Regions from separate parts of the Homo sapiens genome. Here regions 2, 3 and 4 are each linked to region 1. The links are contacts of gene promoters, found by promoter capture Hi-C in blood cells and fetal thymus (Javierre and others, 2016). All regions are on one chromosome and are shown on one strand. Each heading gives the region's core, a stretch centred on a gene start or on the middle of the fragment in contact. The rest is flanking DNA. Distances are from core to core; before and after follow the strand shown. Region 1 holds the start of NRP1 (neuropilin 1). Region 2 overlaps PARD3 (par-3 family cell polarity regulator). Region 3 overlaps PARD3 (par-3 family cell polarity regulator). Region 4 overlaps PARD3 (par-3 family cell polarity regulator).

Region 1 (7,929 bases), core at 2,050-4,549:
GAGCAATCGATTTCATCTATTTCTGACAAAGGGATGAGAGCTTGATGAAAGGAATCGAGCAGTTACCATCCAGTCTACTCTTACTGATGGGCCACGGTTCCAATCCGACTCAGGGAGCCCCAGCTGAAGGCCTTATTTCTGCAGCACCTCCTAAGTGGGAGTCCAGGAAACTGGGCTTTGCCCACTCACAGCCTCTGCAGGGCGTTCTGGGGGTGCGGTAGAGGACTCTTCCCTTCCCTGGAACTGGGTCCTACCAAGTCCAGGGATTTGTTCTATCAGGAAGAATAATGTGTTCAAGAGACCAAAATAAAATCAACCCGGGAACACTGCCAAATTCTTCCTCTGCCTATCACTTATTCTCGTATAGAGCCGGCCTGTCTCCACGCTGGGGAATTGCAAAAATCTAAAACTGACCCCTCTCACCACTTAGTGGAATCCAACAGCAAAGGAAAAAGGTTGTTAGCAAGGACAATTTGCTCTGTACCAACCCACTGGCCGGCAATTCTCAATCAGTGCGGTAGGGCTCCATTACCCAGCACTGTGAGTGGAAACTAAGGAGTCTAGAAAAACCTTAGATCAGCTAAGAGCAGAGAAATCAGAGGCAGAACTTAAATATGACATTTCCTTCTGAGTCCATAGTGCATCCCTTATTCACTGGTTGGAGAAAGCTGGCAAAAGCGCTCAGCTGGAGGCAGGCGTTTTCTGTGCGTTGAGGCGCCGGAGGAGCCATTCCCTTCGGGAAAGACAAGGTCGGGGTGGGGGCAGTCGCTCCGGAGTGCACGATCCGGTGGCTTTATTTGCTGGCCTGGCGGGTCTAGGCTGGAAAATGCACACTCAGCAGGGAAAGGGGAAGAGAGATTGGCGGCAGTTTTCTAAAAACAACACAGCTCAAGTCTCCCTCGTGTGCCCCCTCGCTCACCCCGCCGAGGCTCAGAGCTATCCAAACGGGCGCTCCGGAGCGAGCGCGGAGGTCGGGTCCCCCCAGGACGCAGGCGGGCCTCCGAGACTCCAGGCCGCCCCGGCCGCCGCTCCCTCCCGGTTCCCCTTCCCTGTCAACCTGCCAGGTCCTGAGAGGCGCCTCTCCCTCCGAGCCTGGACCGAGGTCGCTCCGGGTCACCCTAAATCTGATGATGCCGCTCGCCCGGCGCAGCCGGGGGCTGGGACTGGCGGGGCTGCACCTGGGGAGGCGGCGACCGCGCGCGGGTAGTAGCCGAGAGCCCAGGCTGCCTCTGCGGCGCTCACTCCCCCGGGGTCTGCGCTGGGCGCGGTCGGCGCCCCCGCCTCGCCTCCCGCCTGCCCGCCTGCCCGGGCGCAGGGCTGCCCATGGCTTCGACAGTGCTCCTTCCGCTCAACTTAGGCATTTAACTCCCAGCCCTTCGGTGCCCACTTCCCACCCCGCGCCTCCCAGGGGTCCGACAGCTGAGAAGAAGGAGGAAACTGGCAGAGGAAAGAGGCGCTCGGGGGGGCCGAGTTTCCAACTTGGCGACTGGGAATCCCGAGGCGCGTGGGGAGGAGAAGACAGGCTTGACCCGGGGCAAGAGAGTGGCGAGTGCGGGCTCCGTGGGTGCACCTCCCACTGGCCCGGGAACGGCCTGCACCCCGAGGGGCGCACGTCACTGCTCCCAGCCCGAGTCGCGAGCGCGCAGTCCTGGCCTGGGGCCCGCGCGCCTTGGGCTTTCTCCCTGCCCGCCCCTTTTTCTTCCGCCAAAACCTTTGACCAGAGTCTCCTTGCCAGCATTCCTACCTCCCTTTGGCCAGCTATTTGTGCCAGGTAGGAATCAGGCTGTACTTTGGCTGTGTGTGTAGACGCCAATCCCCAGGAGGCGTGTGACCTTTTCACCTTACCCACAAACTCCCTGGGAGGTGCCCCGTGGGCACTGACCCTTCTCCGGGGCCTGATCGGTGACCGCAACCTGTTTCTTCCCAGAAATGTCCTTGCTTTTCGCATCTACAAACGCTTCCTGCAGCACTTCTCGGAAAACCCTCGGGGACGGGCCTGGGGGGCATCCAGCGGGCTGGGGGCACGAGCCGCTGTGGGAAGTGGGGGTGGCAGGAGCTCCAGGGCCGGCGTGCACGTTGTCTGTGGCCGGGAGCGGACACTGAGAGGGCGCAGCGAAGAGCACCCCTCCCCCGCCACTCTTTCCCTCCCTCGGGATGCACAGAGAAACGGGGGCCGCCCGACCCCTGATTTCCACACCCCTCCCTAGCACCTGGGCTCCCAGACAAGGTTGGGCGGGGTCGGGCGGCGATTGCCCCCCTGCTTGGAAGGCGCAGCACCTCCCACCCTCCGGTGTTCCCTCTGCCCCAGAGGAACGGGCACCAAATCTCGGGAAACAATGAAGCCTCCGCGGCGCGCAGAGGGCACCCAGCCGCGCGCCCTGATGCGGGCCAGGGAGGCCGCGTGGGGCTGCAGCCCGGCCTCGCCCGCCCAGGCGGTCTGTCTTCGCTTCACACCACAGCGACACTGCTGCCCCTCGCCCGGCTTCGCGGTGCGGCTCCCACTCCAGCCCGGCTTTCCCCTCCTCGCCCTCCAGCTCTGGGCAGGGGCGTCCAGGGGTGCCCCGCTGCTCCCCGCCACAGGTCTCAGGATGGCGCGATGAGGAGTGGCAGGGGGTGACCCTGCGTTCCTCGCCGCCGAGGGCGCGGGCCCCGGGATTTGAAGTTGCGAGAAGCAGCCGCCACCTCCCGGGCGCTCCGCACTGCGCGGCGGCGGGATCTGCGCCTGCAGGAGCTGCCCAGCTCTCCCTCTAGGGGTGCAGAGCGAGCACGCGAGGTGGGCTGGCCAGACCCTGCGGCTGGCACTGACCTCCGCGCCCCTTCCTCCGACGCCCGCACCCACGCGACCGGGGCGCAGACTCCCAGCGCCTTCCTTCCCGCGGAGATCCCTGCAGGGTCTCTGGGAAAGACAGACAGACGGACGGGGAGAGCACTCGGAGGGAAAGTTGTTCCTCCCAGTCTCCTGTCAGGCAATTACAGGCGAGCCCAAGCGGGGAGAGGGGCGGGAGGAAGCGAGGGAAGGGCTCCGGAGTGGGGGGAGGCCGCAGGAGGGGAGGCGGGGGTGCAGTTGGTGAAACTCCTCTGTCTCCCGCTCATCTTTTCATTGCTCGTTCCCCTCCTTCCCGCAGACACCCGGACCTCCCCTGGGCGCCAGCTCCGCGGCTCCAACGGGTCCAGAAACAAGCCGGATTTTTTTTTTTTCTTCCTGGAAATTGGCTTTGGTGTGTGTTGCCCTACCTCCCTCCTCCCCCTCCCACCCACAGCCCCCCCCCGGCCTTTTTTTTTTTTTTTTTTTTTTTTGAGACATGGCCCGGGCAGTGGCTCCTGGAAGAGGAACAAGTGTGGGAAAAGGGAGAGGAAGCCGGAGCTAAATGACAGGATGCAGGCGACTTGAGACACAAAAAGAGAAGCGTTCCTCTCGGATCCAGGCATTGCCTCGCTGCTTTCTTTTCTCCAAGACGGGCTGAGGATTGTACAGCTCTAGGCGGAGTTGGGGCTCTTCGGATCGCTTAGATTCTCCTCTTTGCTGCATTTCCCCCCACGTCCTCGTTCTCCCGCGTCTGCCTGCGGACCCGGAGAAGGGAGAATGGAGAGGGGGCTGCCGCTCCTCTGCGCCGTGCTCGCCCTCGTCCTCGCCCCGGCCGGCGCTTTTCGCAACGGTAAGTGACAGGCAGAGGCGCGGGTGACAGCGGCGCCCCGGCTCCCAGCTGCCCGCCCCGGACCGGGGCTCAGGCGGGGCTTCCCGGGATCAGCCGGGAACAACCGACTCCCGGGCGAAGGAAACTTTTATCTGGGAGGAGAGAAGAAGAAATGAGATCAGGCGGTTTAGAGCAGGAGGATTTCAGGTCTTTGGGCTCCCTCCTGACGTTGATCCTTGGGCTGTGGGGCTTTTCCTTACCTCTGTTACAAGACAGAGCTGTCTACCTTCCCAGATCAGCATGCCAATTATCTTAATAATGTTTCCTCCCAAAGGCAATTAGAAGAGACTCCCTTTCAAAAATCTGATGGCTGTTGAAAGTTAATGAACACTTTACCAGGAGATCTTACTTCCTGGTTCCTTTGCTGCTCCCCTAAGCCGTTTCCTCTGGTGGGTGACGGCCAGAGATATCGGTTTGTGGGTTGATGAAACTCCCTCCCCCGCCTTTGTACACCTTCCGTAATCTGTCTGGAGTATGACTGAAAGTTACATAGTATCAATACAGGAATCTGACATATACAGTGTAAGGCACCAGGATATCTGAAAATCCCTAAGCTAGTTGCAGCTTCCACTTAGCTTTTAAAATCACTCACTGTTAAGTAAATGAAAAACTATACTGGGGTCTAAACAGTACCATGTAACCTAAATAATGTGTTTTAAAATGGGATCTGGTTGTAGGCATGTTTGACTTCACACTGTAAAGTAAGTGCAGGCAAGGGTATGCAATTATCTTTACAGTAAGTCGTCAGCAATTGTTATTAACTAATGATCAAATATTTACTTTTGTCTGGCTTAGATTTCAATCACAGTAATTAGAAGAAAAGAACATCCACTACTTACTGTGGTATATTGTTTTAATAAGAGACCGCAAGTGGAGGGCCTCATACCAACAGGAATTTAAATCACATCTTTATGATGGAAGTTAATCTCTCTAATATGCTTTTTCAAGGTTTTGTGATTTTAGCAATGGATTTCCCTCAGCAGCTACCAAGCAGTATTTTAAGAGATGCTTAAAGCAAAACACATGCAAAAAAAAAAATTATGAACATGGAATTCAGCTTATTAATGAGCCCAAGTTGATGGCATTTTTCTATAATCTGGCAGGAAAGCAAGACACAAAAAATTATGAATGTAGAATTCAATTTATTAATGAACCTGAGCTGGTAGCATCTTTCTATACTCTGGCAGGGAATGAAATAGCATTCTCGTCCAACTGAAAGAGCTCAAATGGTTGGACTAGAAATTATAGTAACCCTGTCCTCCACAACTCTTGAGACTAAATCCATAGTGGGGGTGTTCACAAGATAGATTTGAAGCTCAATGCAAAGAGCTATCAGACTTTAGGTTGTGAACTACACAAATATATATGCAGTACACACACACACACACACACTTCTTAGTTTTCTTAGCAGAAATCTGGGGAATGCTGAAAATCTGGCTTTAGTTGTTGAGCTTTACCAGCAAAAGCCATGTCGCTATGCTTGAAGTGACCAGAGCCAGAAAATGCCTCTGTAACTCAGCAGACCTCTCAAAGCCATGTCCACCTCCTCTGAGTAACCAGTGTCTGCTAAATTAATTCATTAACCTTATTTAGGACTAATGGTCCAGAGTCATTAGAAACTGCTCTTTCTTAATCAACTGCTAGAGAGATTGAACAGAGCCAGGGAGTCTAGCAGTCCACATTATCTTATTACACTGTCACTTTCTCAGAAGTCACAGATTAAAGAGCTCTGGTGTGGTACCAAGTCCACCTAAATGTCTTCTGAAGTGACTCTGTCGAGTGACTAGAACCAGTGCTGTTTTATTTCACTCCTGTAACAGATGCCAGACACTACCATGATGTTTGTCCAGAGCTAGAGGAAACTTAATGAGACGAGGTCACTTTCCAAGTTTTCTGCACATTCAAAATAATGCAAGAGTCTCAGCAGAATCACATAACAGAGTCCAACATGATCATTAGCTGAGATTTTGAACTCCAGTTGCAACATCATTTCTTCCTGGCAAAGCTTACACTTTTACAAGCCAGTGCAAAGGAAACCAGCATAAGACTACCCCCAGTCTAAGGAACAAAGTCAGAAGCACCTAGCGATTGAGAAAAACAATATAACTTATATTGTCTTCTTTTTTTAATTTATGGGAAATGATTTCTGTAATGCATGTAGCTTTATGCATTTTTGATGTGCACTTCATCTTTCATTTCCATTTGACCTGGTTTTCCTGTAATAAAATTCTGTAGATTTATAAATTCATGCTGAGAGCAAAGAATGCCATTCTCTTTCCACAGGGAATCTATTAGATGCAGTGTTAAAATCTACATCTACCATTACTGAAAATTTGTGATTGATAGGCTTATATATTTCACTGTTTTCATACCGTTTCTCTTATATAGTTTATGCACCGAATTTTTATTGCTCAAAATTAAGCATCAATAAATGTGGCAGCATTTCAGGCTGAGGTGCTCCAGTATGAAATCCATCATAAAATGTGACAATGAGAATCTATGCTGAACAATATAGGCAGCCCAGAGACTGGTTTACTTGGTTTATTTGGCTTCACTTGAGCATTTTTGAAATGAAGGCTCAAAACTACTTAGCTCACCTTTCCCAGAATGTGAGAATGTGGGTTACCATATGTGATACCCAGACCTGTGTGGTGGGTTATTTTTCACCCAACATTTAGGTAATTAGAATTAATGCCATGTGGCTATTTACTTTTCCTTCTGCCCCGTTGCTTTGATCCGATCTCCAAGCTTGAACAACTTTACTTGGAGAAGTAAAGCAGAATTATTTCTGCTTCACCAAATATACTTTGTTCTCTGTTGATTTGGATCTCAAGAGCAGAGATAACTCAAAATCACTTAGATTTATGGGCAGATAAAACAACAACAACAAAAGGTTTGGCTTTAAGCCAATCAAAGACAATCCCCACTGATCAATGACATAGACCAGGCTTATCATCAAAAAACAACACAAGGGGTCGAACAGCATCTTTCAGTCACTTTCCACTTAGAACTTGCTACTTAATGTGATTACACTTCTTGGGGGATAATTAAGTCTAGCAGAAGCTCCCAGGGGACCATGTTAACATCAATTGAGGGGATTTAATGTTTTTAATGCTAGAAGACCTTTTCCTTAGGAAGAAACTTCGGGGCTGGGGGGAAGAGTCCTCTCAGATCTCAGTTGGCTTTCTGCCTGAGTCAACCTTCCTGAGATCAAAGAGTGTTTTTTCCTGGAGTGTTGCACTCAGAGCCACACGAAGGACTTACGGGGACCTTTTAGAGTTCCCCTTAAAAAGTTAAGGAATGTTTAATAACCAGTAATTTACATATAAAGCTAGATTACCTAACAGGTTGTCAGGAAAGATCTGCTAAAATCTTACTTTCATTGCAGATAAATGTGGCGATACTATAAAAATTGAAAGCCCCGGGTACCTTACATCTCCTGGTTATCCTCATTCTTATCACCCAAGTGAAAAATGCGAATGGCTGATTCAGGCTCCGGACCCATACCAGAGAATTATGATCAACTTCAACCCTCACTTCGATTTGGAGGACAGAGACTGCAAGTAAGTGGGAATGTTTTTGAACAGGGCACCACAGCACCATCTAGTGGTCACGCCTGTCTACGGGGGGGAAGTCGGTGTGTACAATGTAGATTATAAATGGATCCAGGAGGGATTCCAATCTCAGCCAGATTATATGTCAATGGTATGGAAATTGAAGTACGTTAAGTGATTTCTGAGTTCCCCAAACCAGGAAGATTATAGTTAAATGTGTAAGCTCTTATACTCCTTCCTGTTAGCACTTTTGGTTTGGGAACTCTTGTTAAGAAATGTATACAGTATGTATGTTTCTTTTTTCTTTCTTTTTTTTTTTTTCCTGGAGAGGGGAAGAACTAGAAACTCAAAAATCTCACTTGTATTTTTACGAAATACAGTGGATCACTAATATACATCGCATCCACAGATAGTGTGATTGGAGATCTCACTATTTGAGATATATTGAACTGTGGCACATCTTATGATTTAAGAACTGCATTCATCTTACTAAGTAAGTTTGACATGGAAAAAGCAAATTGAATAAAATAAGGCCTACAGGATAAGCCAGATGAGGGGTTTTGTAAATGGTGGATTACTGATTAAAATACTTTTATGGAAAATGCTAGAAAATAATTGTTAAGACACGATGAATACAATGGGAACTCAAATACACATCAGTGTTTCATCCACCTGCTTAG
Region 2 (7,929 bases), core at 2,688-5,187, 860 kb before region 1:
GGACTATGAATAATAACTTACACATTTCATCTTCAGTCCATCTCCCCATTATCCACCTAACACTGCCTTGAACATGGAGGGGAAAAAAAAGTGTTAATTTAAGAAAAAAAAAAAAAAAAAAAAGCTTTGGCATATTCCAGGGTATTCATAGTGATGTCTTGAGTTATTTTACGAAACAGTTCCAACTGATTTCCAGAAACCACAGTTGATGCATAAATTCCCTAATTTGTTTACTTTAGAGAGATCATCTCAAGTGCAGCATCTGTTTTTTGCTTTCTCTGTGCGATCTTGGTTTTACATCAGGAGGAGTGAGGCACAGGGACGTACAAGAGCGGCTCGGGCCACACAGGCAGCTCCTGAACCTGCTGTGTGCTGTGTCAGGAGCTTTCTGAAACAGTGGTGGGTGTGCCTCCTGTTACTGCTCTGGGTGGGCAACTTCCACGTCTGCCTTTTCAACTGTTTCTCAAGGATAAACTCCATCTGCCAGATAACATTATTTTACAACTAGAAGAATGTCACAACTCAAATTTTGCTTAGTATGTCTTATTTTGGAGAAGCAGCTTTCTTCTGTGAAGCTCAGAGCAGTAACCTAAAATTACTCTCAATATGTAGAGGGAGAGCCTTCTGGAAGTGCAGTGGTTATTTATGAAGCTTGGGTGGGGGAGCTCCCTGCCATGTTCCAGTGAAATCGGAGAGATAAAATTTTAATGTTGGAGGCTTTTCTACCATTTTGCTTCTTCTGCAGTCCTTGCAGAAGCAGCTGCTATAGGAAATCTATTTCCAGAGCCCTGTCCAAGCCCATGCCCAGGGTCACAGGAGGAGGAGCACCCCGTAGTTTGTGATGTTAGTAGAAAATTCAGGGCATTGAAAACCAGGAAAGTATCAACAGCCTCCATCTCTGAAAAATAGCCAACTGAATTTTCTCTCATAAAGGGTGGCCCACGCTGGTCCTCCAGCTTCACTTAGAGCTCTTGTAAAGATGGGCAGGAATTATTGTGAATATAAATTCGAGCTGAAGAGAAGAGAGGGAAGTGCAGAAAATCCAATTAACTGAAGCGAAAGTCATACAGAATAAACTACCCATTGCTAAAAGAAATAGGTTTTAAATTGAATGAATCTTTAGAGCAGAATTGATCAAATATGTCCTTATTGTATGAGAAGATGCACTTTGCAAATAATATTTGTCGGGAGGCATCATCTGCTTGAGGATGTTTCATCTTCTTGGTAAGAAGGCCGTTAGAAGTTTGGAGCCTTTTTCATCATTGTTATTAACTTGCAGGGGAAAATCTTCCTATTCCAATATTCATTAAATGGATCTCTTTGTGTATACAAATAGTAAAAGTAGTTTTGAAAGTACTATAGGTAAGCAAGGGGAAAAAATGCACTGTTTGTTTCTTCATAGAACTGACATTTTTATTTAGGGAAAAATCCATGAATTTACAATCTCTCCCTTTCTAGGTTTTTCAACATTTCTTGCAAATTGTATGTAAATGAATGCAAATAAGCAATCCTCACTAGCAAGCTGCTTAGAAGTGTAAAATGCATAAAATTAAGATACTGAGAGAAACGTGCATCTAATTAAGGTAGCATGTAAAGAAATGTTTAAATTCAAATTAGATACTTCAGTGGAAAGAATTTACTTGTTTAATTCAAAAGGTGTTTTGTATAATTCTGAGAAGCTTGTCCTTAGCAGTACTTCCATTTCCTTCAAAGCTCCAAAAATCAGTTTTAGGAGCTTGCCCTGGTTCAGTTAAACTTTAAAATTGGGTTTAAGCTAAGAATTGGAATGTCATAAAAATACGTTCTAGTTTTAATGCCTTTACCTCAAAAACAGACTTAGAGAGGCGGGCATGATAATTTGAGAGTGAGAGTGGGTGGATGTGTGGATCACTATTTCTATCCCATTCATAGAAATGGCACGTGGTACTTGGATTTCATGGGTTCTTAGAAAGCCTGGAGATAACACAGATCACAGGCATCTAGTTATCCCTGGATCTTAAGAACATTCTAGGAGCAAGACAGGAAGGATGCCGGCCTGTGCCATCAACAGCCCCTCCACACTCTGACGTCCAGGAGGTCACCTTTACTCTTTGGGGCCATGTGAGTCCAGTCCAACCTCCAGCTGTGCCAGGGACAGAAGAGGAGGAGAGGAATTTGGTCTCAGTTTAGAAGCCTATTGTTTAAGTAGATGAAAATTTTTTTTACGAAGCATTAAGCAACAAGCAAAGTACTGAAGAAATATAAGATCTGTGTGGAGAAGACAGAAACTGTCTTCTAAGGTTGGTGCTGTTTCTGTCTCAGACACAAGAACCAAAAGGGCAGATAGAAAAACAAGCAGGGCTGGGGACGGTGGCTCACGCCTGTAATCCCAGCACTTTGGGAGGCCAAGGTGGGAGGGTCTCTTGAACCCAGGAGTTTGAGATCAGCCTGGGCAACATGGCAAAACCCTGTCTCTACCCAAAACAAAACAAAAACAAACAAACAAAACCCACAAACAAGAATTAGCTGGGCATGGTGACATATGCCTGTAGTCCCAACTACTCAGGAGGCTAAGGTGGGAGGATCACTTGAGCCCAGGAGGCAGAGGTTGCAATGAGCCGGGCACTCCAGCCAGGGTGACAGAGCCAGACCCTGTCTCAAAAAGGAAAAAAAAAAAACAAGCAGGAAAGTGGTTTTTGCTAGTTTTCAGAATGCCTGATTTTGAAGTGTTCCACTGACCTCCACTTCTTTTAGTGAGAGTTCTTGCTTTCTACCAGATGGCATATTCCTCCAATTTCAGCTGAGCCCGTGTTTTAGCCTGTAAGCCTATAGTCTCTATTTGCTGGCCTCACAGAGGAGAAATCATTCATTAAGTTTTGATCATGTGCAGTGTACAAATTCTCTCTTAGACTCAGGTTCCCTAATCTGAAGTTCCTGTCTGTGTCTGAGCTGGGGAATTAGAAAATGACGCTGAGACTGTTGTTCTTCACTGGGGAGTTGGATCTGCTCTGTCTCTTCAGCGGGGCCAGGAATCCTTCTGAATCAATGCCAGACTTCTTTCATCCTCCCTCCCCCTAGGCTCCCAGACCCCATCTTCACCCCCACCCCCACCCCCAAGGCTGAAGCACAGACCAAACCATGCAGGACTGTGAATTGAAAAGCATCTTCTGGCTGGTGACATCTGTTTCCAAATATCCAGCAAGTCTACTTAGGTTTAATCAGAAGGGTCACAGTTGGTGTTTCCTCCTTGGGCCAGGAGATTTTTCTCCTATGGGACTTGGGCCTGATGCCTTCCAGTCAATTAGAGCTCCTCTCCCTCTTTGATTCGTTGATACTTTCAGTGGCTGCCTCTCAGCCAGTGACTGGTTGGGTTAGTGATTCCTCTACTTATAGCACAGACTACATCTAGCTGCCCACTTCCTGGATACCCCACATTCACCATAGTCGACATATTCCAAAATCAGCTCTATAACTTTCCTCTATAGTGGCTTATTCTCCGCTCTAAATCTCTCCTGGTTAATGATGCCATTATCAGCCCTCTTCTCCTTGCAAATTGCCAATGCTATCACTAGGCCATTTTTATTTCTTACCTGAGTTTATGCAGTAGCCTCCTAGCTGCTCTCCCATCTCATCACACACTTCCTCACTCCTTTCTCCACACCGTTGATGAAACAGCTTTTTCTTAAAACACAAATCTCACATAACATTTCCTGATTAAAGCCTTTCTGATGCTCCCTTGTTAAGTTTTTTCCTGTCTTAAGGGGTCTGGGCTCTATCTAACATTGCACTCATATGTCTCCTCTCCTCCCCGCATTCCACACACCAGCCTAGTTGAACTACAGGACCCGCGAGATGCCATGCTGCCATTTATATTTTTGTGCCTTTGCATATGCTGTTTTCTCTGCTCCTCCCCACCGGCATCCTCCAAGTTGGCCTGGAAAACTCCTACTCACTTTCCTACTCCTCAGAGAGTTTTTTCTTTTCTCACCCTCCCAGGCTGAATTTGTCACGCTCTCTTTTGTTGCATTCCCGGCCTCTGGTTACAGCATTTATCATGCAGTACACTGAAGAGTTGTTTCCTGGTGTATCTCCCATTTAGGCCATGGGCTCCCAAGGGCAGAAATTGTGTTGGGTGAGAAGGTGCCCAGAGATAAGACTACGGCAGTGTTTCTCAAACTTTGTGGCCCCAGGATCCCTTTACACTCTTAAAAACTGTTGAGAACCTCAAAGGGCATTTAGTTTATTATTTGGGTAAATATCTGTTGATATTTCCCACTGAAATGTAAACTGGGAAATTTAAAAATCATTTATTCCTTCAAAATGAACAATAATGAACTTATTAAGTATTATTATAAAATACATTTTATATAAATAACTGTGCAGAATAAAAAATTGTAAGACCAGTGGCATTGTCTTAGATTTTTAGAAATTTCTTTGTGTCTGGCTTATGAAGGGAAGACAACAAGATCCTCCTATTTGCTCCTTTAGTCAGTCTGATTCATTGTGTTGTTTAATGTCTGTGAAGACAATACAATCTAATTGCAGATATTTTTCTGGATCAAAACTTGACAAGTGGTAGTTTCTTACTAGTTATTGTAATGTGAAACCTAAAACCTTAGGGAACTTTTCTTACAGCTACCTTAAAACCGCTCATCTCTCTTGCACCTCCAATAGCCCTTTTGCCCATGAATGTTTTACTTATACCATGCATTGGTCACTTGGAAAATGTGAGACCACTGAGTTATGCAAATCCTCCAACAGATGGTACACTCTGTCATACAATAAAAAAAGATAACAGAAATCTTAATTATGCAACCATCAAAGTCATGATGGTAGACAGAAGTTTTCCAAAGTTCTGATTTTCACTTGAAAGCTCAAATTTTATCATTGGCAACAAATACTGTCAGTGGTTTTCCTCAAAGGGATAGGCTCATTTTGCTCATTTTCAAGAAAATGGCTTTTTAAATGCCTAAGTCTGAATAACAGGTTTTTGTCAGTTGTCCTTTTTTGGGAAAAGTGGTGTTCTGTGAAGCAGGTGGCTAGTTCAGCTCACAACTCAATTGCACAGGTGCTTTTCCTTGAGACAAACATCATACTTCAGTAGGTCATGGAAACATGTACTTGCCTTCTCATAACAGACTATTTAAAAGATACTTACTCAGGATCAGGATTTACCAAATTAATACTTACTGCCTCATCCAGGGCATGCCTAAGTGATGCTGGCATTGATTTTCCTTCAAGTGCTCAGAGGGGCAAATGCAGTGACCACTAGTATCGTTTGGTGACACTGGCTGCCTTGATCTGTGCCAAGTTGCCAGCTGTTTTGCCCCCTCCCCTATGGCGTTTGCACCACCAACAAAGTGTTAACCCCATAAAGAAGGAAAGAAATGTCTTAGCAGCATTTTTAAAATTTATTTTTATTTTTGTAATGTAGAGTCTTGCTCTGTTACCCAGGCTGCAGTGCAGTGGCACTGTTATGGCTCACTGCATCCTCCAGCTCCTGGGCTCAAGGGCTCCTCCCCTCACCTCAGCCTCACAAGTAGCTGGGGACCATGCCCAGGTTATTTATTATTTTTATTTTTATTTTTGTAGAGACAGGGTCTTTCTATGTTGCCCAGGCTTGTCTTGAGCTCTTGGCCTCAGGCAACCCTCCCACCTCAGCCTCCCAAAGCACTGAGATTACAGGCATGAACCATGGCTCCCAGCCAAGAAATGTCTTAGTATTTTTATCAAATACTTTTGACCTCGTAAAACCTCTGGAAGGATCTTGTAGACCCCTAGGAGTCCATAGACCACACTTTGGGAGCCATGGGACTGACTGGAGTGAAGCAGAGGCCCCTCATACCAGGTTGCAGAGTCCATGCTGTGTTGGGAAGGGTGTGGGGGGAGAAGTGCTGTGGTCAGATTTGTTTCTTGGAATGACCATGGTGGCAAGAGAGTGGAGCAGTGGAGCATCTTCTGGGGAGTTGGAAAATTGGAACTGAACATCATTGCTGGAAAAAAAAAAAGCGATTTTAAGTTGCCATATGAATATAGGATGATTATGTAAGCCCCAAATTCTTCAACCCTTTGGAGTGATGTTTTCATTCCAAATCACATTCAAGTGTGTGAAACTAGGTTGAAGTATTTTCTGGTATTATTTCAGAATAGTATTATTTCTATTCTGTGAATGAATTTGGGTGTGTGTGCACATGTGTCGGTGTACGTAAAGCTTGTATGTGCATGTACCGTTGGCTGGTGGGTATCCTGGGCAATTCTTTTCTGGCCCAGGTTGTCTTTGTGTTTTGTCATCAGAAGTGCATTCCTTAGACTCTGCATGTTATCCTGGATCATAAGTAAAAAACGTTTGTTTACCCTAAAGACCTCCCACTCAGTGGAAGCGTGGGAGACACATTCCTGAGTTAAAAAGGTCTAGATCAATATAATATTCAGAAGTAATTGCAAGTGATTCTAACCAACCCAGCAGTGCTTACTTAGGACTGTGTTCAAGAGCCTCCTTGCCTCTTTGTTGATCTCTTTAAATACCAAACAAAAGACAATGAATCTTCCAACTCAGGCGATTCCATTGTGATTGATCTGAGCCAATTTTTTGAGGTAATTGATGATATTGCCTTAGTTGAGTCTGTTAGTGCAAATAATTATTAATCAATATGCTCTCAGCTCTTAGTTCAGAAGATAATTCTAACACATGATTTATGCTGAACATTTCAATTGAGCTACCTTTACAAGAGGAAAATCAATTGGCGAGTGTTCTAAAGCACTTTAATTATCTGCAGCTCCACGTTCCTCCGCAGCCATATTTACCCAGACAGCTAGTTGTCCCATCCTAGAAAGGGTCACAGGAAGTTTTTCATCGCCACGGTAGAGAGATAGTATATCGTTCATCTTAGATTGACTATGTTGGTTTAAAGTAATTTAGTGGAATACCTTAAAATCAAAGCATTGCTGCTTTCCTTTGGAGAGCATAATTAACATTGCCCAGGAAAAAGAAGGAACGTGTTACTGATCTCCATTCAGTTGGAAAACAGTTTGCCAATGTGGATAGTGAATGTCATGTAAGTCAATTTAGCCGTAAAACGTGAGGAGATCTGAATCACAGAAAGGAGGTTAAGGTGTAAAACATTTTAGGGGCTAAATTTACATCACTCCCCTAAACTGTTGTTTAGATTCTTTGTGACTTCCTTGTGCTAAGGCTTTCTAGCATGGAATTTGTTGTTTTTCCCTTTTAGACAATGTCTTGATGAATATTGTGGTTTGATTTTTCCCCCCTGTGAGAGGAGATGCAGAAGAAATTAATCACCACTAGGAATGGGCCTGCCTTTGTTCAAAGTGGAGCTTCCAAGCATCTGTTTTTGTTGTACTTGTGGTGGGTACAGGAATGTGTGGGCTCTGGCCTGGGACTTTTGGACATGTTTATAACAGATGGAAATTTTAAATGACAGTTCCCTGCATTGTCATGGTGGAGCCACTTCAATAGCACTGAGATGCTCTGTTATACTTCTTGCCCAGTACTCTGTCTCTTGCTGCTATTAAAGCATCTCTAAATGGTAAAACGTGAAGGCATTTGGCAGCTTTCAAGGGCAGTTCTTTAACGTCTCCACTCTCTACCCCCATGTACCCCTGGGACCCCCAAAACTTGGACCCAAGACTTCACGTAGCAATAAACTGAAACACCACTCATTGTTCACAGCTGGGCCAGTGCTGGGGCTCCAGAAGGTAATGCTCTTAAGCACTGAATTGTGAGTTCATACTATCAATTAAACAGCAGGAGAGAGGAAAGGGAGGTTTTGACTTGGGATTTTTGAGGAGCGAATTCAGTAGGCATTTTTGGAATGCCTGGCTTGGAGCTAGCTCTACAGGGAAGACCAAGAAAAATGAAGCCCTGCTTTTGCCTTTAGGAAGTCACAGTCCTGTTGGGAAGGGTTGGAGTGGAGAGGGGAGACCTCAGCC
Region 3 (7,929 bases), core at 2,369-4,868, 830 kb before region 1:
TGTCACAGTGGTATATAATTAACTGTTTACATGCCAGTCTTCCCCAGGGTAGTCTCTGTCTTGTGCATCTCTGTGTCTACCACCTAACTCAGAGGAGGCACTCAATGAAGTTATTGAATTAATAGATCCATGACTGAAGAAGTTTCCTAAGGGCCAGGCATGGTGGGCCACACCTGTAATACCAATACTTTGAGAGGCTGAGGTGGGAGGATTGCTTGACACCAGAGTTCTAGACCAGCCTGGGCAGCATAGCAAGACCGGTCTCTACAAGAAATTTTAAAATTAGCTGGGCGTGGTGGTGTGCAACTGTAGTTCCAGCTACTTGGGAGGCTGAGGCAGGAGGATCTCTTGAGCCCAGAAGCTGGAGGCTGCAGTAGGCTATGATTGCACCACTGCACTCCAACCTGGACAACAGAGTGAGACCCTGTCTCAAAAAATAGCAACAACAAAAGTATCCTAAATTAGCTCTGAAAAGCTATAAACGTCTAATAATGTCAAACTTGAGTTTGTGGATTGAGTATATGTTAAGGATTCTGCAAGTGAATCTAGTGTTGTCAGCTCATGTCACACAGAAGCTGAGCCTTGCTTCTCTGGTTACAATCTGGGCTCCTCTTTGCTGGGCACCCTGCAGATACATCCTGCAGGGCAGGGGAGGCTGTCTAAAAGAAGCTGGTGGCCCCCTGTGGCCATCATTCTTAGAGAGAGAACCCCAGGCAGAGGTATCCAGGGAACCTTCATTCAATTGTCGGAACTTAATGCCATAATGCCTTAACTGTGGTTTCCATGAGTCTATACGTGCCATCTTTCACTCCATTCTTTAGGTTGTTGAAACTGTATCCCAGTTTTAAAGACTTTCACAGATGACATCTTCATCGTTTCCTTCTCTAACCTGTTCCATCGTGTGTTTAATAAGTCTTTCTGTCAGAAAGGTATTCTTTTTCTCTCATCTAAATCCCCACATGCCCATTTTTCTCCATTTGGTCCCTAGTAGTGAGGAGGAACAGCTGACCACCTCAAAGTTTTCTTCTCTGTCCATCCCCTGGCTCATGTATCATCCCCTTAGGGTTTTCAAGTTTCTCATTATATTTGTCAGTAAAACTAAGAGATGAACTTTCAACTCCAAGTTTATCACCAGAATATCCAGCTTCTTTTGTCATCTCCTGCTCTCCTGCGTGTCTTCTCCCAAACTATTTTCTGTTTCCTTTTGTCACCATCATGGAAAACGGAACTTATTCTTTCACTGTGCTCTATATTTTATCTTCTTGTGCAATTGTAAGCATCTTGAGAGTAAAGATTGTACAGATCTTCTTTCTATTTCCTGCAATGCACAGCACATAGAAATTGAATTTCCTGGCAGCTGTAACTGTCTTTGATATACCTAGCCCCGGTTTGTCTGAAATTGATCAAGAAATGTAGCCAGTAAACTTAATTCCTATTCAAAGGGGAAAGTGTGTACTGTGTACAGAAGAGGCATTTTACATAGAGAAGCTCAGCACCAAAATCTAATGTGCAAAAGCAAGATGCAGAGCAGAGAAGATTCTGTACTCTACATTTGAGAGCTCTTTATTTGTCAACAAGGCAGCAGATATTTCTAGGTAGCGTTGGTGCAATCCAGTATAGAAAGTGGATTTGTTGGTATTACACATAATTAGGAAGCAGGAACATCAGTAATTACTGTGAGAGGATTTTGTATGGCATAATTAATGCCCTCAAACTATTTAGAAATTCTTAGATGAAAGAAAATACAGAAGTGGGAATTTTGGTGTTGAAAAGACAAAGGCAAACTGTGTTGGAAATATGTTACCAAACATCATGTTTTATGAGCACAGATTGGCAAAACATCAGGACACAGCTGTTGATTATAGCTGCTCTTTTCAGTAACTGCCTCAGAGCCAATGAATCCTTCGCGGGGAGGGCCTGTCAGGACATATCAGAGTGCAGCTCCTCGCCCTCCCAATGACTTACCAAATCACACGCCTGCCCTAGAGAGACCCACCAGTGTCTTAGGAAGTATTGGCTAAATGGAACCACATAGCAATGTGTGGCCTTGGATATTTAACATCAAAATCATGCTTTGGCAAGACATGTTGGCATCACTCATCAACAGGCTCTCAGTTCTCTGGATTAAAGGCAAAAAATAAAATAATCAAAGTCACTTTAAAATTAGTGACATGTTTTATACTAAGATAATTTTGCAGAAAAACTGCCATTTTAAATCAAAGTACGCAGCAAGGGAGTGATCTACTAGGCTTTCATATCAAATATAAAACTACCACTAAATAACTGTTTCTGAAACTTCATGTGTAGTTTATCATATATTAAATTATTAACATTTCTGTTGGAGGAGGTATTTTTCATAAAATATTTAAGCTTCACATCTCAGAACACTATTTCAACAACAGATACCAAAGCTATAAAATGAATGTTACAGTTCTATCAAATATTCAGCCTTTTCATTAAGGAAAAAAAGAAGAAAAGAAAAAAACCATATTAAGCCATTACTATGACACGACCTTTGCTCAAAAAAAAACTCATGTTTCAACATAACCCTCTTGCACCCCTGGGAACATGAAGGCCAGAGGTCACCCTTTTTTTTGTTCATGGTAGTCCATGATTTGGGGACATAGGGTCAGTGGATATTTCAATTAGTATCAAGAGTTAATTATTGTATCAGAGGACACAAATGAGAAGCTATCAAAATAATTTAATTAGAAAACAAATTAGAAATTAAATACATCTTATAAAATGACCTTCCATTCCTAGGGCAGAGACACGTTCAAGCGTAAACAAGTTATTCTGGCTGAAGTTGATAGAATAAGCTTAGCATATATCAAAGAAAAAACTACCCTTAAGCAAAACGTTTTTCTATTTTATTCGGTTCTGCTTTCCATATGCGTTCTCATATTTTTTTCATTTCAGATGTTCTTCCTTACATATACCTAAATATTACCTTTTGCCATTTTCTACTGCTAACCACAGAAGTAACTTCAGGACTTGAGGGTTTTGGGGGCTTTGGGGTGTTTTTTTTTTAATGTTTCATATTTCTTCAGAGAAGGAAAAAGTCTTGTCATTTATGGAGCACCTTTTCACGAAAACCACGCAGTGCTGTTCCTAGTGTAGACCATTAAAGTGAAAAAGCATTACTGGCAGACTAATTGTGTATGGTGTAGCATGCAGTCTATCACAGTAACCCATCACACACCAAAATGCACATGCCGGCAGACCCGTGCAACGATGGTTGATGTTCACAGTGACCCTGAGGTGTTCTGTGTAATTTTGAGCTAAGGATACTTTATTATAGTCAAACTTTTTGGAGGTAAGGTCTATATGAATACTTATTAGTGAACAGCATATAGTTGGTCATTGTGGGTAAGTGGGAGATTTCCTTGACAGGTTATTCCCTCAGACACACAGACCCAGGCCCGTAAGCGGCAGATTTAGACAGCAGAAAATCCAAGCTCGACGCTGCAGCAGGCGTAACTCTTTAGTGGTACAGCAGGTTTACATCATTACTGCCCAGACAAATTGGTCATGCGTCTTTAATTTGTTCTCACAAATCACTCCCTTCACTAGTGTGATAGTTTTGTTTTGCAAATAGTGACTCTAACAGAGTGTATAGTTTCAGATAGAATATTTGGCATGTTGATGCTGAATCATGCCAGCCACCTTTCCTTAAGGAGAAATGGAGGAAAAAACACACCTTACAACAATCTTTAAGGTTCTCGTTTAGTTGGTGTTCTTAAAAAAGAAGTATTTAAGGAGAATTATAGGTTGGCTATTGTGTGTGTTGTGGGGGTGCTTGCTTGGTGTTTTGTGAGTGGACACTCATCCTGGAAGAAGGAAGGGGCATCGGGCAGTCCCAGCCAGGGTACATGGGTGTAGAGTCCTTTCTGAACTCTTTTTTTTTTTAGACAGGATCTTACTCTGTTACCCAGGCTGGAGTGAAGCGGCATGGTCATGGTTCACTGTAGGCTCAAATTCCTGGACTCAAGCAATTCCGCCTGCCTGCCCCCGCCTTAGCCTCCTGAGTAGTTGGGACTATAGGCTCACCACCATCCCCCAGCTAATTAAAAAATATATATTTTTTGTAGAGACAGGATCTCACTGTGTTACCCAGGCTAGTCTTGAACTCCTGGCGTCAAGCAGTCTTCTTGCCTTGGCTTCCCATAGAGCTGGGATTACAAGTGTGAGCCACCTCGCCCAGGCCTGAGCTTTTTTTAATGCACGTGAGATTTCTGGTGTTTGCTTATGTCAGGGTCAAATGGAACTTTGCCTTGAGACTCAGAGAAAGAATTAACATCCATCAAGACTTAAGAAAGCATAGTCCATGCTTTGGAACACACCAAGCTCTATTGCTAAATTTAATTTTGTTTTCTAATTAATTTTTTTCCAATAGAACAACTTTTTCAAAGCTTCATATTTTATCAGCAATAAAGTACTTCATATCTGTAAGTCCAACTCAGTGAATCTGAGGGAAGGTTTAGGGAAAGAAAGAAACAAGTGACTGATTTTAAAAACAGAATAGCGATAGCATTAACCGATAAAGGGATAATAGAAATAGAGGAAGGTTAGTGAGAAATATAGCTCTTTCTTGTATATGTATATTTCAAAATGTTGTCAACATATTCAGGTGAAACACTTACCAGGTGATTAGAATAATGGTTGTGTTTTTTAGATGAGGTAGATTTCACTGCATGAAAATGACCATTGATATGGGATATACCAGCCAATGAATGAGAACGGAACAAACAAAGAGATGTAAAAGATGAGCAGTAATTTGGGTTGCTCCTCAACAAACATGGAAAATTAACGTTTTAGTCAACAAAGGAGAGCCAGCAGGGTCAAGTTCTGCAAGAAATGTGAAGACCAAAAACAGGCCACTCACTCTATTAAGCTGTTAGAACATCATTTGAGAATGCAGTGGGAGCTTAAGGCCAAATTGTTGGGTGTTGAGAAGGCAGAGAGGGGTGGCACTGGCTCTGTGCATTAGCCTTGTGCAAGAACAAAGCGGTTTTTCCTCTTGGGGCACGAGGACATTTGTCTCCCAGTGGCACCTTGCAAAATGCTAGACATTGAGGAAAATTCCAGTAAACACATGGTTCTGGCTCTTAAAATTTCGAAGTGTCCTGATTTTAATATAAGAATGTTCTGGCATGCTAGAGATAGTGATGGCAGGCCACAGTAAAATTTCTAATATCCTCCACATTCAAAAGGGAAGTGAAGAAGCTGGCCAGCTCAGCAGACACTACTGAAGGGATGGATGTGAGACTCCACGTAAGTTAAAATTGAGATCAGTTCAGCTCAGAAAAGAGAAAACTGGGTGAGACCTAGTTCATATTCTCAGAGGTGCAAAGGGTTTTATAAGGATGAGTCTGACAAGTTTTCCCCGTTTCTCCAGAGACCCAAATAAAGAGAAATTAGTTGAAATTAAAGGAACCTTTTTTTTTTAGTCTGTATCTTAGAAGATAATGAAATGTTAGGGTGGTCTTCTAACAGGGGCCACAAAGAATCTTTAAGAGAAAAAAAGGAGAGTCTAGTATCAATCAACGTTAAATTATCTTACATGCAGTTGGCTGAAGTGACAGGTCATGGCCAGGTGATTTCTTGAGAACCTTTTCAGTAAATGACTTGATTACTATTATGAATACATTTAGTCAGTGCGCTTCAGAAATGCTATTGCTTGTTTTCGCTCATCCCCAAAATGACTATGGAAATAATTGTATATGTGTGTATGTGTGTGCGTCCAGCTAGGAGGGAAACTACAAGTAGTACTTTCTGATTTTTGAAAAAAGAACAACTTTACATACAATTCAGTTTTACATTGTTTCTGCACAGGAAAACTGCATGTCGTCTTCTGCTGTAACTATAAAACACATCCACAAAAGTTGTCACTGGAATTTGCTTAAATGTTTCTCAAAGCAGAAAAAGAAATGACTGGTCTCTGGTTCATTCAGACGCCTGCTTATGATCACAATTCTGTTGTCTTACGTTGTCATATTCTGCTGAGAATAGTTCAACAAATACTACTCTTAGTTGAAAGCTTTAGAATTTTCCTTTCTGGAATATTTACAGATGTGACAAAATATATTTGTTATAAATGTATTCTTATCATATCAAATGACCTGAAATTTGCCATTTTTGATTAATTCCTGGAGATTACAAGAATGATGAGGGCAGTTGCATTCAGAAGTTGCATACAGTTGCCCTTTGCAGAAGTACATGGTGCACATGCTTCAGTGTATTTAATGATGTTAACAGTTCATTGATTAAAGTTCACCTTGGAAATAAACAAACTTTCCTATTCATCTTTCAAAGTTGTTACAAAAACAGAAGCAGGTTTTTTTTATGGCCAATTCTTCCTTTTCTTCCTTAGTTGGTGGCTCTTTGTTTTGAATTCCCATAGTAGCTGTTTATTTTTCCGCTTTGCACAATGTCTGTATTAGTGATTTACTACTCGCTGTCTTTCACAAGACCTATGAGCGTGGTGGTTTAATTAACCATATTTTGTGCATGTTTACTCTTGACATTAAGAAAATAATAATAATTGCTTAAACTAACAAATGGAATATGAATCCAGTTGAGTTACTTTGCTCCTTGTTACCTCATTCCCTCAGGTGTTTATTGCTCTTGTAGCCATTTGATGTGAATAACAAGAATTCATTATTTCAGAGTATTAATGTTACTCATTGGACTCCTTCCTTCTTCCAGTAGATCCTTGCTGTAAAACATCCTGGATTCTCATTCTTCTGCCTGAGCAGTTCCCCCGTAACGGTGCGTGAGCAGATCACATCTCTCTGACAGAAGGGTTTGCAAACTATGCCCACAGACCAGATCCCCAGGGCTATTTGTTTATGCATTTCCTGTGACCACTTTTGCAGTATGATGGCAGAGTTGAGTAGTTGCAACAGACTGACCCACAAGGCCAAAAATATTTATTATTAGGGCCTTTATAGAAAAAGTTTGCTAGTGGTTCCCAGTTCCGCTGTAAAGGATTTTGTCCCTGTTTCTTTCTAGTGTGATCTCCACTCTTCTCTCTTTTTCCGTGGTTGAGTGTTCTGTGTCCCAGCCAAACCGACATTCCTTTCTATTTAACTACAACATTTTGCCTGTGCTATCTTTTCATCTCATGCCCTTTCTTCATCTTTTCAAATTCTGCTTCTCTTTTAAGAACCAGCATATATGCCACCTCACCCAAGAAGCCTTATCTGGTTCCTCCAGCTTGGATGGCTCTAATCTTAGTCTAATTGTTTTCTCCCACGCCTTGTGGGTGTGTCCTCCCCCCCACCGGCTGTGGAGTGGCCGGGAACACAAGCCTCCTCCCCAAGACTTAACTTCCTAGGTGAATACGCAACTCCCTCCCAGGAGTGGTGGCCACTCTAAGTCCTACCAAGGGTATTGGACTGAAACGCCATTGTCTTTCATGTAGTGATGACAAGTCATTTGTTTCTAAAGTCAAAAATAATTACCTAGTGTAATTAGGTAATTATTTATTTTTTATGTAATTATGTAATGTAATAATCTACCTATATGTATAGAGCATTCACTCAGAACCCTACTTGCTGATTTTTGAACCATGTCCAGCCCTGAAATTATGTGGTTTCAGATTCCCGTGTGGTGGTGGCATCTATCTGGGCAGCTCCTCCAGGAGTTGAGGGAGTGGGTCTGAATTCTCACAGTCCTGTTGGAAGTGTGTGGCCAGGCTGGTTCCTTTAACTGCCCATTAGAGTACACTTTCCTTCCTTGTGGGGCCCTTCTAGCCTATCAGGTCAAATTTTTGTGGAGTTTCCTTACTAGTCATTTCCATTTAGTTCACAAAATCAGAATTCAGGTGAATGTAGCAAGCTTAGCTCAATCAAGTTACACTCTCTTCTTCTCTTTCCCAGCACATAACACAATTCTAGTTGATTTATTACTAGCACAGTTGTTCTG
Region 4 (7,929 bases), core at 1,822-4,321, 790 kb before region 1:
TGGAAGAAACTCTGTGTATCAGTGGACCCTCAAAGTTCAAACTCATGGTGTTCAAGGGTCAACTGTAGTTTGAAGAGCTTTAACTTAGTTCAGGTGAGGAAGATGGGGCAACTGGCAATGTGGGATCAGCATCCAGGTGTAAAAGCACCTCATGAAATCAATTCTTGCCTAACTTTGGGAGGTTATAAAACAAGTTCCCTGGAAAATCTCTAATTGTCTTCTGCAACAATATTACTATTAATGGCATTTTTCTAAGGTATTTAGTTCATTTTCCTAGATGATCAAGTACATTGAGTCATTCCCATGTAGCAACATGACAGAATTATGTTAATCTGCTTATATTGTTTGGCATAATTGACTCAATCCATTCCTACTACATTTCTTGAAACAGGATTCTTTTGTGATGTGTGATAAATTCTTAACTATGTATATTTACACAAAGAGGCTGAAAAGAGTAATGAGCATGGTGTCAAGCTGAAGGAGAAAACAGCAGCTGAATATGGAAATAGTTAACACACATGCACACAGTTCCAACCTGGCACAGCCCCGCCTGAGCTTATCATTCTCCATACCATGCCATGAGGAGCAGTGTTCGCCATTTGACTTTGCCTGGGAATGTGGATTCCAAACCAGCATCTTGACATTTACTCTTTAACTAATTATTTAATTCATCAAATTCATTGAGTTCTTACTATGTCCCAGGCATTGTGGTTGGTATGGGAGAACAAAGATCGAAAAGAAAAAATGCCCTCAGAACTCTCCAGTAGAACTGATAAAAAATAAAGGAATACTTGGTACCATATAGCAGAGGTAGGCTAGGGGTGTGCATGGGGTGTTGAGAACCACGGAGCTGTGAGGACCACATCAGTGTGCGGTGGTCAGAAAAGGCTTGAAAGAACCCCTCTTTGAAATTGGAATATATTTTAAATATATAACAGAGAAGCAGACATATGTCTTTGAGAACTCAGATTGATGAGTTTATTTCTGGTTTCTGACATTGTATCCACATGCGAGACCTCCAGGTTTGTTTGAGGCTAAATGAGTATTTCCTACGTCTTAGTATCTAGATGTTTTTCATTGGGAAAAGTGAAAATGATTTGAAATTCATTTTGGTTTCTTTATAAGATTTTAACTTTGAATGGGAACAGTGAATAGGCTGGAATGCATTTCTATGTTATCTACTTAATATGAACAATCATGTTAGGGAAAATGTTTGAAAAAATCTTGTACATTTGGAAACTCAACTACTGAAGGTCATGGACCACATTATTATATATCAAAATGCCATAGCAACTTCAGACAGACAACTTGGCTTGTATTAGCATTTCCGGTAATGAGTGAGCAGGGAATTATTTGGATGACAGGCTGATTACCTTAGAAATGGAATCATTTCCTAAATTATGGGTCACAAGTTGACCTTTTCTTTTTTTTTTTTTTTTCATTTTCAAGAAACTGAGATCTTGCTCTATTTTACTGATCATGTAAATGAGCTTAAAGTGACTGGAATTCTACTTAGTGTATTAATTTTCATACCAATTCTTATGGTTACCTTAGGAAGAGCTGCTCAGTTGTTTAAAATGTAGCTTGGTCTATGGTTTTAATTATCTGTTTTACAAAATGAGCTTTTTGCATCTTGGAATCCTTCTCTTCTCTTATGTATTCTGACCTTGAAGGGTCACTGTATTTGGAAGGGATGGGACCATGATCTCATTCTTTGGAATGGTTTGTAATCATTTTAGTTTTAAGGAACCACAAACTCACCTTCAAGCTGTGTGTACAACTGAGCCCATATTAGTTGAAATTGTCATGCTTGTTAGAAATGCCCACACACAAAGTGCAGCCAGATGTGTCACAGAGAAAAATATGTAAGCCAATTACTTTACATACAGAGCAGGATGCTGCGGAAAATTCATCCAAGTAGCCCTTTCAATCTACCTATTTTGAAAATGTTCTCTATAAGCTCTAGCAGTACAGAATGCACCTGTTCCTGGGCCTTTGTTCAAAATAATGTCTGGGCCTGAGGGAGCTGATTTGTGGCACAAAAGGTCTTTAGATGAGCAGAGGCCCAGAAAATTTCCTTAGCTCCATAATTGAAGTGAATTCTCTCCCAAGTTGAGCAAGAGAAGAAGAAAAGGCAACTTCTTCCTCACGTAGTGCCAGGTGCAACATAAATAAAGCAGCAAGTTGCTTTAAATCTTTCTTAAGATAATGGAACAATAGGTGAGGTTAGGGTTATTATCACAGAGCTTCGATATGGACAGGACTTAGTGTTGCTTTTAAAAGAACTAAATTGCAGGCTGCAGACGTAAGTACAGTATGCCGTAAAAACTTTGCAGATACCTGAGTGTTGCCAACAAGGAGACTTGCTGGCTGAGACGACTGATAGATGGGATAATGGAGCCTTTAATAATAGCTGTATTGCTAAATCCTTTCCATCCCAGGTTGGGAGTGACTGAAAGTAGTTTAGTCCTTCAGGTAGAAAATTGATACTCTGCAATGTGAATATCCTCTTCTCCCTCAAGCTTGCTTGTTTCCTAGCTGTCCGTCATTCAATGAATAACAAAATCTGTCCTTTTCTCCCTTTTCCTGTTTCAGACTTTAATAGCTCTCCCTGCCCTCTTAGGGCTCTGCCTGCTTTAATTGGCAAGGCAGTCATAGCACACAGCCACTCTGTACCACTAGATTGCCTCCCTGTGCCTGGGCAATTTCAGAAAATGGTGGTTTTCCTTTCGTTTCCATCTTTTTTAAGACTTAAAAAGTATCTGCTCTCATTTTCTCCTAGCGGCCTCCATGCCTTGACTCAAAAAATGCTGCCTTAGTTGACAGCCTTGAAATGAGTATGACCCTAGCTCTAGTTGGGTGGAAATCACCTCGCATAGAAATAGACCTGGAGGGCCGGGCACGGTGGCTCACTCCTATAATCCCAGCACTTTGGGAGGCCCAGGTGGGTGGATCCCGAGGTCAGGAGTTCAAGACCAGCCTGGCCAACATGGTGAAACCCCGTCTCTACTAAAAATACAAAAATTAGCCGGGCGTGGTGGCAGGTGCCTGTAATCCCAGCTACTCAGGAGGCTGAGGCAGGAGAATCACTTGAACCCAGGAGGCTAAGGTGGCAGTGAGCCAAGATCACGCCATTGCACTCTAACTTGGCGACAAGAGCAAGACTCCGTCTCAAAAAAAAAAAAAGAAAGAAATAGACCTGGAGATAAGCCATCTGCAGAGAGGTGCCCATCACACATGGAGAGAGCCTCTGTACTGTCGCAAAGTCAGCACTTTATTCTGCCCTGTGACCTGTCCCTCAGCCAAAGGCTCTGTGACTCATGGCCATGCTATGCTCAGAAGCCCTGTGTGGTAGGAACTCCTGAAGCTACCTTGGGTTGCCATTAGCCCAGATACTAAAGTGCCTGGCTTGTTTTGTAGAGCAACCTTTTTATTTTCAGTGTTCCTATTGCTTAAGATGGGGGCGGGGATAAAAGATCTAAGCACTGGTGTGAAAGATGAGGTGAAGACAAATACAATTAAGACCAAAACATTCATTTCTAAAAACTTCATGAGGGAAACGGGTGTGCTTTGCAGTCTTTTCAGCCATTACTCACATCCTTAGGAGCAATTAAGCTTTTCAACATTCAAGACCCACAAGAGTTCAGTCAATAGTTACATAATTATGGCATGTGTGGGTGGGTGCGGAAGGCTGGGAAGGCACGATGGGTAGACAAAAGTTAACGTTGTTTTGATTAAAGGTTGTACATAAGTCTACTGAAGAAAATAATTACCAATATTAGCACTGGCCACTTTTCAACAGAGTCAACAGTTGACACTCTTCACATGATTTAATGGCATAAAAATGATTTCTGCTCCCTACCAAATCTTTAAATTGCTACTCTTATCAGAATATGGAATTCCTATTAGGGTCACAGCTCATGTGAATTGCTAAAGTAAGGATTGTGAATCTCAAGGGAATGCCATTAGTCTTTTTGTCATCAGCATCATTCTCACCATCATCTTCATCACAGGTTTTCATCCAAAGTGCCTGAATGTTTTGTATTTTACTTTTTGTTTTCTATATGTGCCCTTGGACATACAAAATTTTGCAGATTTTTATCATTCATAATTTAAGGAGAAAATCTGCTCAAAGTGATCCTTTATAAAAATATTACATATGTGTGTGGATATATATATACACGTGCACACCCACACATACTTACACACTATTTTCCTTATCTATAAGAAGAAAAGTGATAGATTATTTGAAATTATTGAATATTCTATGTATATGTTAATATAACAATGATTTTATTTCATAAGTGGCAGCACACTCGCATATTAAGCTGTCAAAGTCTTACAGTATTACCTAGTTCTAATTAGTACTGAAACTTTGTACTGTGGATATTCATGTTTGTTCTTTACTCTGTTAACTGTCTATTAAATATTTCGTTTTGTATTTTCATTTTTTTCTATTTTTATTTTGAAGCAATGATTTTATTTAATTAAGAGAAATGCTTAAAGACTTAATTCATAAAACACCGTATGAGACCATTACAAGCATGTAATCTCCAGCACTTTGGGAGGCAAAGGTGGGAGGATCACTTGAGAGCAGGAGTTCAAGACCAGCCTGGGCAACACAGCAAGACCCTGCCTCTACAAAAATTAAAAAGAAAAAAAAAATTAACCAGGCATGGTGGTGCATACCTGTAGTCCTGGCTACTGAGGACAGCTTGAGCCCAGGAGTTTGAGGCTGCAGTGAGCTGTAATTGTGCCACTGTACTCCAGCCTTGGCAACAGAGCAAGATTCTGACTCTAAAATAAAAACAAAATGTTTAAAAAAAAAACTGTGGAAAATATTTTTTTATATTTTACCCTACTAAATGATACCAACATTGTATAGCTTCCTCAAGCTTGAATTATTATCCCTTTATAATCTATGAGAAAGACAAGTACTTTGTAGTCCACTTACAAAAAAAAATACATATTTTTCACTTGTGGTTTTAAACATAGGCCATGAAGAGATTTACATATCATGGCTCTCCAGCATCCTGTGTAATATATACTCGTGTGTTTATTTCCATCTTACAATCTCTATTGTTATTATGGCTCTGGCAGCCATGTTTTTTTTTTATTTAAAAGGTCATTGCTTGTAACCAATTTCATCACAGGGTTATTTGTAATTTGCACTGTTAGAACAGAGCTTCGCCTTGTTCTCTGGTGAATCTCCAGAGTTATTACAGTTATGCCTGCGCAGGTATTTCCCTATGTGGGTGTTACTTTGTCGCTGCAGTTGTTGATGATATTTTATTTGAAAACATACACTTCTCTGTGAGGTTACAAATTACCTCTTTTCTTCACTTTATTTTTGTGCTTGGACTCAGATACATTATTTTGTTCATGCCATAGGGATTGAAGCCACAGTGTGTAAAATTCCAGATTGCCATTGTAATACTGTTCATCCAGTTTTTGTTTTTAAGAGGTCTTCATTTAAATTGTGAATTAGAGGGGTGATTTTTATTCAGGTCAAGTGTCAAACTTGCCGGGATGAACTTATTTAGTTGTTGCTCTGGGCTGGTCATGTATGCAATCTTCCTTGAAATATGTGACCTGTTAGAGGGTTTTATCTTAAAGGTAAGAGTGATTCTGTTTAGTAACCCACCCTTTTGCAAGTTCTAAAAAGAGAAATGGAGTAAACTATTAATGGTGAAGCCAATGTTTATGTTTCTTCCTGGTGAGCATGATAGTATGAAATATGTCAGTTTGCTGATCCCAAACTCATTCACTCCTTTTAAGTTTTCAGACCCCATATGCTGATAATGTCATCATTGGAATGTATCCAGATCCAACTAGATACTTGTAGCTGATAAAGTTTGAGGCGAACAGTGTCAGAAAACACACAGCAGAGAAAACAAGTCCTTCAACTTCTTTTTTCTCTGTCAGAAGCAAATTTTCAGGCCTATGGGAGAAACAACTTAAAAATACACCTGAAATTTCTACAAGACCTTGCAATTTCCCTTCACATCTCCACAAGCAGCTTGTCACAGAACAGCACGAGCTTAAAAAGCTGGTTACTAAATCCTGCTGCAGAATGCCAGATCTTTCAAGACTGTTTGACACATGCATATAGTTTACACTGAGTGAAAAGGAAAGGAAAATGTGGTTCTTTTGAGGGTGTAAAGGAAATGGTGTAGTGTTTTCTTTCTGTCCAGTGGTTTATCTCAAGCTTCCCATTGCTCACCGTGACAAGAAAACAGCTCAGTTTCCTTTTTGGCCAGCCTCATCAAGTGTAATGGAAGAAAATGTCTGTCTCTTTTAATGCAGTTGATGAACAATTGTTTGCATAAGCAGAACTCGCTCAGCGAAGTGTTTTTCTTGCTGAAGGCCTCACTGATGTGTTATTTGAACGGTGTTGTGAAGCGGGTCTCTGAATACACATTTGTTCCAGTGAGTGTGGTTATAAAGCCCCTAGTAGAGACTGGGGTATTGTAAAGCCTAATCTCCTCACACATTATTTTTGTATCGGGATATTTTTAATATGCTCACTAACTAAGCCCATATGCTTTGAAATGTTTGTCCTGTATATTGCTTCATTACTGCTTATCAACAAGTAAGGTTGTGCTGGCTTTGCAGAAAGAGAACAATAGATGATGCTTGATTTCTTTCTGTGCTGGCCAAAGCCAACCATAGGAGCCATTCTTTTGGTAACAAGGCTACCTGTTATCTTACAGCTCGCCAAATGAATGTTCAGACTCTGTTGTTTTAGAAAATCATTATCAGGGCAAAGTCTACCATTAGCTTTCAACTCTAAAAGAAAATCAATAACTTGTTTCAAACAGACATTCCTCACTCAGACTATGCCTGTTGCACAACGTTGCATAACAGAGGGGGAACTGAGGGTGGCGAGTACTGAAAAGGATCACTTAAGGGGCCTACTGCTGATGCTGTGACAAACCATTGGGATGTTTCATAAATGTAGAGGCACCATTGTATATTTTGAGCACAGCTACTTTTATTTCAAAAGGCCAGATCTAGAAGGTAAGGTAACCATTGTCAGTGAGAAATTGAAGCATCCCAGAAACCTGATCTATACCATGCGGTATACACGTTCAGTAATCTGATTTCGGTGAGAAGCACCAATCACCAGATGACTTGCTGACCAAAGTATGTTTTTTCTTTTCTTTCTTTTCGTTTTTCCTTTTTTTTTTTTCTTTTTTTGAGACAGGGTCTTGCACCATCACCCAGGCTGGAGTGCAATGGCACGGTCATGGCTTACTGCAGCCTCAATCTCCTAGGCTCAAGCGGTCCTCCTGTCTCAGCTTCCCAAGTAGCTGGGATCACAGACATGTGCCACTGCACCTGACTAATTTTTAAAATTTTTTTGTGGAGACAGGGTCTCACTGTGGTGCCCAGGCTGGTCTTGAACTCCTGAAATGGAGTGCTAACCAAAGTATTTAGTTAGAAGGATTGAAGTGTTCTCTATAGGGGATGATTAACTTAGGTAAATTGCCATTTCCTAATAACTAAGGTAAAATGCATTACCTAATAACCAATTTAAGTAGCGAGTAGCTTTTGGGTTTGTTCTTTTGATAGGCATTTCTGTTCCCTGTTTGGCTGCCATCTGTGGATTGCAGGAGACCTGTTGGTACCTAGTTTAAACTAATCTTGGCTTAAAATTTCACTGTCATCCTGTACTAGAAAGGGAATCAGCTATACTGTATCCTGCTGTAAAACTAAAATATATACCTACCCCCCAAAATTCATCAACATGGCCACCTCACAGGTGTGCACTCCTGGACTTTCCCTCTTTTGAGAGTTGTAGCAAATTTTTATTTATTTATTTATTTTTGGCATTAACATCTTCTAGTTTTTGGAAGAGCCTCATTCTTATTGTATCTGCTCTGTGTATTCTGGAGAGAGGTAAATGGTGTCTTATGTCAGCATTTA

What was found. Contacts are between HindIII fragments. The CHiCAGO score rates a contact against its expected background, and 5 or more counts as called.
Region 2: a fragment that was not itself captured here is called in contact with the fragment with the promoter of NRP1 in region 1 in 1 of 17 cell types (monocytes); the score reaches 5.6 in monocytes.
Region 3: a fragment that was not itself captured here is called in contact with the fragment with the promoter of NRP1 in region 1 in 1 of 17 cell types (monocytes); the score reaches 5.1 in monocytes.
Region 4: a fragment that was not itself captured here is called in contact with the fragment with the promoter of NRP1 in region 1 in 1 of 17 cell types (endothelial precursors); the score reaches 5.4 in endothelial precursors.

What each region holds. Positions count from the first base shown.
Region 1 is chr10:33,330,037-33,337,965 of GRCh38, reverse strand. NRP1 (neuropilin 1) reads left to right here and starts at 3,299. Exons shown (of 17, transcript NM_003873.7): 1 at 3,299-3,656; 2 at 7,084-7,258. The coding sequence starts at 3,584. The HindIII fragment of the contact is 8,759 bases long and covers 1-5,702 here.
Region 2 is chr10:34,186,807-34,194,735 of GRCh38, reverse strand. All of the region lies in intron 22 of PARD3 (par-3 family cell polarity regulator), which reads left to right. Among named protein-coding and RNA genes, the nearest start is that of LINC02629, 290 kb to the right of the region's middle. The HindIII fragment of the contact is 4,511 bases long and covers 1,682-6,192 here.
Region 3 is chr10:34,162,608-34,170,536 of GRCh38, reverse strand. All of the region lies in intron 22 of PARD3 (par-3 family cell polarity regulator), which reads left to right. Among named protein-coding and RNA genes, the nearest start is that of LINC02629, 260 kb to the right of the region's middle. The HindIII fragment of the contact is 1,593 bases long and covers 2,822-4,414 here.
Region 4 is chr10:34,120,329-34,128,257 of GRCh38, reverse strand. The region is part of intron 23 of PARD3 (par-3 family cell polarity regulator); the gene reads left to right. Among named protein-coding and RNA genes, the nearest start is that of LINC02629, 220 kb to the right of the region's middle. The HindIII fragment of the contact is 1,093 bases long and covers 2,525-3,617 here.